Regions from separate parts of the Homo sapiens genome. Here region 2 is linked to region 1. The links are contacts of gene promoters, found by promoter capture Hi-C in blood cells and fetal thymus (Javierre and others, 2016). All regions are on one chromosome and are shown on one strand. The core of a region is centred on a gene start or on the middle of the fragment in contact, and the rest is flanking DNA. Distances in the headings are between cores, read along the strand shown. Region 1 overlaps GLMN (glomulin, FKBP associated protein). Region 2 holds the start of EPHX4 (epoxide hydrolase 4).

Region 1 (2,967 bases), core at 171-2,670:
TTAAGGAAGGGCAGTCAATAAAAGAAGTTCTTCCGTATTTTTCCTTCATGGACACAGTCTGTGAATTGCATCAAAAGGAAGGAGGTGTCTTGACTTCCACCTTTTATAATTTAGATTATTGACAGTGATGTCATTCAATTACAACTTTTCTCATTTGAGGTGCTAAGCAGCAGGACTTTCTATTTAAAAAAAAAAAAAAAAAGCCAGGCACGGTGGCTCACGCCTATAATCCCAGCACTTTGGGAGACCAAGGCGAGAGGATTGCTTGACCCCAGGAGTTCGAAACCAGTCTCTCTCTCTACAAAAAATAGAAAAAATTAGCCAGGAGTGGTGGCGCCTGCCCGTTGTCCCAGCTACTTGGGAGGTTGAGGTGAAAGAATCACCTGTGCCTGGGAGGTCTGGGCTGCAGTGAGCAGAGATCATGCCACTGCAGTCCAGCCTGGGCAACAGAGTAAGACCCTGTCGCAAAAGAAAAAAAAAAAAAAAAGGAAATTACAGAGTAACAGGTATACATAATTTCTAGACAGAAATTAAAGAATTTCACAGAACTATATGCTTTGTTTTCTTTCACTATAACATGTAACATGTTTAAATTATCCCCTGAGATCAGTTAGGGCTTTGCAATTATCCTCTATGAACACTAGTGACAGTTTATCAGTCCCATCTCTTACCAGGTGAAGGAAGATTTGTAACATGGCAATGTCCAAAGCTTCAGCATACAAGGCAGGAATTTCCAAGGGTCTCCTGGCACAAGTAGTTACTAATTCTGTAAATTTGCTGTATTATGTATGTTTTAATGATTTTATATTCATTACATTTAGTTTCTGTTATTCATACAGTGATAATATGTATTGTTTTGAATCTAAGTCCTAAATTCTTGAGATTTCCAAACTGCAGAGTCATTGAGTCTTTTTTTGAATAAAAAGAATTGGAAAGATTTTACAGAATAATCAACTGGAATATATAGCATTGGTTATATCAGGTTTAGTTAGTTTCTTAGCACTTGCTGTTGAAGATCTATTGTTTTGAAGTTAGGAAATAATCCCTGAGTAGATTTATTTTGGTCAGATTTAGTGGCCTTAGCCAAACCGAAAGACAGATCAAAGATGGATTAAAACTTTTGATCAAGTTCTTCAACAGAATTTCTCCTTAATGATATGCATTTTAAAAGTGTTAAAATTTCAGTTTTTGCTGTATTTTTCATAAGATGAAGTATCATTCTAAAATAGTTTACAAATTCATGATAAATTTTAATATTATTTTTCAGAACAGAAGAGTCTGTTATCTCCAAAGGATTGGTAAGATGTTTGTTCCCATTATAACTTAAATACATAGTTATGTCAACAAATAACAGCTGTTGACTTCACTATATATGTATCTGCATATATTTTAATCTGTAGGAGCTGCTGGAGAATAGTTTATTGAGAATAGAAGACAATAGTCTACTTTACCAGTACTTAGAAATCAAGAGTTTTCTTACTGTACCTCAGGTAAATAAAATATGTATTCTAATATTGAAAATAGCCCTTTGCCTGTTCTGAACTTAAAGTAAGGTCTTTTCTGATTCCTTTCCCACTCTTTTCTCTGCAACCTTTGAAAACTCTGGTGTAATGCTGTCCAGTAGAACTTTGACAATATGAAAGCCACTAGCCAAACTGAACACTTGAAATGTGACTAAGGAACTATTTTTTTTTTTTTTGAGGTGTAGTCTTGCTGTGTCGCCCAGGTTGGAGTGCAGTGGTGCTATCTCAGCTCACTGCAAGCTCCACCTCCTGGGTTCATTCCATTCTCCTGCCTCAGCCTCCCGAGTAGCTGGGACTACAGGCGCCCGCCACCACACCCAGCTAATATTTTTGTATTTATAGTAGAGACGGAGTTTCACTGTGTTAGCCAGGATGGTCTCGATCTCCTGACTTCGTGATCAGCCTGCCTCAGCCCCCCAAAGTGCTGGGATTACAGGTGTGAGCCACCACACCCAGCCGGAACTAAGTTTCAAATTTAAATTTTAATTTATTTAAACACGAATAGCTATTAGAGGCCACCATTATTGATAGCACAGCATCCAGTAGAAAAGCATAACTTTCTTCTTTTAACACTTTATTTCTGTAGGGATCTTGGAAAATGAAGCTTCTTTATGTTTCTCATAACTCAAGTTCTCAGGACTCCATCTAAGGCATCCACTGACTCATTACCAGAAAGACTAATACACATTGTGTTTTTCCCTCCTATGGTTTATTTTGCCCAATCCTCTTTGTTAGTTATGATATCCAAGGAAATCCTTAGATTTCAGTGTGGGAACTGGTTTTCCTAATATTTAAATAGAAAAACATGGTTTTTGTTAACATATTGTTTGATTGTTTTTAATTAATAAATTATATTTCTGTAGATTTGATTTCATTTTCTTGCCACTGTAGACATAATTGAAAATTATCGTTTGCTTTTAAAAGTACACTGTGTGACACTCTACTCAATATCACTTAAAAAATCAATTGTAGTTAGCTTTCTGGAATGGAAGGCTTAGGGAAAAATTAATTTACTTCACTTTTAAATCTCCTACCCTCACTTCTCTGAATTTTTAGTATCCTATTGATGTATTATAGTTGTTTGTTTGCAGTCAGTATAATCTGTTTACATCTGAATTTTACATTTTTTTATTTCCAGGGCTTAGTGAAAGTAATGACACTTTGCCCCATTGAGACACTGGTATGTAAATATTTGGTGACTAAAGAATAATGAGTTACAGTGAGAAAATTTGACAAATAATTTAATTTTCTTTTTAAAAATTTTAATTTGTGAAATTTTTATTTAGGAGGTACAAGTGTGGATGTATTACATGCATAAAATGGATAGTGATGAAGTCTGGGTAAGCTTTATTCATTTTATATAATAATATTGTTTGTTCCATTTTAGAGGAAAAAGAGTTTAGCTATGCTTCAGCTGTATATTAACAAGTTGGATTCACAAGGC
Region 2 (3,450 bases), core at 421-2,920, 240 kb after region 1:
AGGCAACTCAAGCAACTGAGTTTTCAGATGTGAAAGAATCATTTTGCAGATTCAGAAGATGAGGCCCAAAGATGGTAACATGAGTCATAAAATGGTTGAGAGCAGGGCTGTGACCAGAATCTCCATCTTGTCCTAACTCCCAGGACAATGCTCTTTCCACTCGGTTCTCTGTCTCTGGGGAAGCTCTTTAGGCGGCCAGAGCGAGGGGAAAAGTGTTTTATGGAATTCCAGATGGTTCTTATACTACTTTTACCCCTCAGGTTGAACAGAGATAACAAATCTGACTTTACCCTCAGCTGCACGATGGCTTCCTAGAGGTTCAATAACTTTTTTTATTGGTGGTGAGTCTTGGAGGATTAAATGTTATGGGCACTGCAATGGATTTAATTAACAGATACTTTATTGCACTGACTATGCATCAGGCATTGTTCTAAGTTTTTCGTGTTTGTTTTTATAAATATTAACCTATTTAATTCTCATGTCGACCCCAGGCAAGAAAGAAGTTCTCTTGCCCTTCTGAACTTCAGCTGCGGGGCAATTTAGCTCCTAACAGGAAATAAGGACTTGGTGACATAAACATCCCCTCTTATGAGGCTGGGTTTGAAAGGCCTGTGAGTCAGACTGCAGGGTGTATCACGGGAACTATTTCCCTTCACCACCTGGAGCCTCAGGAAACAGAATATTTGTGGGCTGTGAGGAAGCTTGAACAATTAGCGTCTGCAGGCATGGCTGGATTTACCTTTTATTCCATTCCTTTCTTTGGTCCCTGACTTCATAAGTATGCATTCCTCCCCACAACACACACAATTTACTTATTGTTTCATGCAACCTAAGTCGTCTGTGATCATAATAAACTCATGACTCCCAAAGACTGACTGTTTACTCTTATTATCTCTAAAATTGGGCAAGAACAGCCTCCTGAGACATTAGGATGCCACGAGGAACAATTCTCTACAGCTGATCTGAGCTCTAAAGGGCAAAAGGGTGACAGGAGACAGCTTCCCCTTGCAGTAGGAAAAAGAGCAGGTTTATTCTGGGTTGTTGTGGCGCCGGGGGGCAGTAATATAAGAGGCCCCTGATTAGAGAAGTTCCACATTCAGAAACCAATCAAGGTGCCTGCAAAGACCGAGTGCTGTTTATCTGTATCTCTCTCTCTCTCTCTCTCTCTCACACACACACACACACACACACACACACGACACACAGGGACCCAACCCCTCCTCCCCTCCTGCCAGGACACTAGGGGACGCTGAGCCAGCGTCTCGGAAGGAGAAGCCCGGAGCCCCCCACCCTCGCGGCGGTCACGCTCCCTCCCGCTCCCGCCAGGCCCGCGCGGCCCTTCACCTTGATCCGCACGTAGCAGTGGGTGCCCAAGGAGGGGTCGCTCAGGCACGCGGGAGGGTGCTCCCGGGCGGGCCGCCGGAAGGTCTGCGCCGGCCCCTTGCCGAGGCTCCACAAAAGTTTGAGCAGGTGGATGGAGGCGCAGAGCCCGCAGTAGCAGTAGACCAGGGACCAGAAGAGCAGGGACCGGAGCGTGAGCATCAGGCGGGGCAGGCAATCCCGCAGCCTCGCCATTGGGAGGCGGCGGCGGGGCCCACTGCCCTTCCTCGGGAGCGGGTGAGCGAGCGCCGCAGCGCGCCAGGCCAGCCCGCCGTCGCCTCTCGACGCGCGCCTCCCCCGGCCCGGGGCGGCCGGCGTTCCGTGTCACCGCGGCGGCTCCGCACACGCGCCGCGCCCAGCCCGGAGCGCGCAGGGGAGAGCCGGGCCTGCGGGGTGCGGCGGGCCAGGCCGGGGTGCAGAGCTTGGCTGTCTTCCGCGGAGAGCGAGATCCCGTTTCAAAATCGCAAAACTGTGGGGGAGGATGAAGGCGAGACTTTCCCAAACCATCCTGGGCACCAAAGAAGGTAGCGCCACTCAGTCTTCTTTGTTGTTCTCAATGTATCAAGCAAAACTATTTCTAAGCCCACATATTCGTGTGTCATAGTTCAGGGACACAGGTCAGCGACAAACTTCCATGCTATTACACCCAAAGAGATTCTTTAGAGTGCAAAATCACTCTGCACTCTGAAAGATACCAGCCTTCCTCTTCTCAAAATCTTTCGTGGAATCATAATTTCTGTAGAAATCCGCCTATGCCTTGCCTGGTTCAGCCACAGCAAACTTACAGAGAGCTGCAACCCCAGGGATACAACGAATGCTTCAACAACGTGACGCGGCAGAAGCCTGGCCAGAAGGCCACACACCTGAGAGTTCGTCGAAGGGCTGGAAGCCGTGAGAGTGACAGTCCTCGGTAGGTATCTCAGCCTCAGCACCGACATGGCCACTCTTGTCCTGACCTCTTCTATCGTCCAGTTCACTGTTAGAATTTCATTAAGCCTTTTCCCAATCACCGGGTCAGGTATTAAGTGTTCATTTTTTATGAGAAACTGTCAAACTGGTTTCCAAAGTGGCTGTACAATTTTGAATTTACTTCAGCATGTGTGAGTTATACAATTGACCTTTGAACAATGCGGGGGGTTAGGGTTGCTGAACCCTTTCACATCTGAAAATCCATGTATAACTTTTGAGTTCCCCCAAACTTAAGTACTAATAGCCTACTACTGACCAAAACAATTAACATATGTTTATGTATTACATACTGTATCTTTATAATTAAGAAAAATGTTAAAATCATAAGGAAGAGAAAATACATTTACTATTCATTAAGTGGAAGTGGATTATCTTAAGAGTGTTCATCCTTGTCATCATCAGGTTAGGTAAGCTGAGGAGGAGAAAGAAGAAGGGAGGTTGATCTTCCTGTCTTGGGGTGAGGGGGAGGGAAGAGGTGGAAGAAAATCCATGTGTAAGTGGACCTACACAGTTCAAACACATGTTGTTTGAGGGTTAACTGTATTTTGCTCTTTTTTTCTAGGGTCTTGAGTTAGGAACTTATTGAGACCTTTGCAATTTCTAATGCAATCATTTAGCACCTATACATTTCTCTCAGTACTCTTTTTATTTTATTTTTTGAGACGGAGTCTCACTCTGTCGCCTAGACTGGAGTGCAATGGCGCGATCTCCATCTCAGCTCACTGCAAGCTCCGCCTCCCGGGTTCACGCCATTTTCCTGCCTCAGCCTCCTGAGTAGCTGGGACTACAGGCGCCCGCCACCATGCCCGGCTAAGTTTTTTGTATTTTTGGTAGAGACGGGGTTTCACCGTGTTAGCCAGGTTAGCTCGTGAACCGCCCGCCTCAGCCTCCCTAAGTGCTGGGATTACAAGTGTGAGCCACCGCGCCTGGCATCTCTCAGTACTCTTTAATCGTATTACATATGTGTTGATATGTTGTATTTTGCCATTTGTTATGTATTTTTTAAAATGTCCTGTTTTAGGTTGGGTGCTGTGGCTTACGCCTATAATCCCAGCACTTTGGGAGGCTGAGGCAGGAGGATCGCTTGAGCTCAGCAATTCA

What was found. The method cuts DNA at HindIII sites, captures the fragments that hold promoters and counts their contacts. A CHiCAGO score of 5 or more calls a contact.
Region 2: the fragment with the promoter of EPHX4 here is called in contact with a fragment that was not itself captured in region 1 in 3 of 17 cell types (M2 macrophages, endothelial precursors and M0 macrophages); the score reaches 7.2 in M2 macrophages.

The regions. Positions count from the first base shown.
Region 1 is chr1:92,266,436-92,269,402 of GRCh38, reverse strand. It overlaps GLMN (glomulin, FKBP associated protein), which reads left to right. Exons shown (of 19, transcript NM_053274.3): 10 at 1,268-1,298; 11 at 1,401-1,490; 12 at 2,662-2,703; 13 at 2,911-2,967. Among named protein-coding and RNA genes, the nearest start is that of GLMN, 31 kb to the left of the region's middle. The HindIII fragment of the contact is 1,418 bases long and covers 712-2,129 here.
Region 2 is chr1:92,028,205-92,031,654 of GRCh38, reverse strand. EPHX4 (epoxide hydrolase 4) reads right to left here and starts at 1,670. Exons shown (of 7, transcript NM_173567.5): 1 at 1,345-1,670. The coding sequence starts at 1,575. LOC124904218 (a long non-coding RNA gene) reads left to right here and starts at 1,268. Exons shown (of 2, transcript XR_007066222.1): 1 at 1,268-2,290. RefSeq lists an enhancer at 1,470-1,971. The HindIII fragment of the contact is 12,008 bases long and covers 704-3,450 here.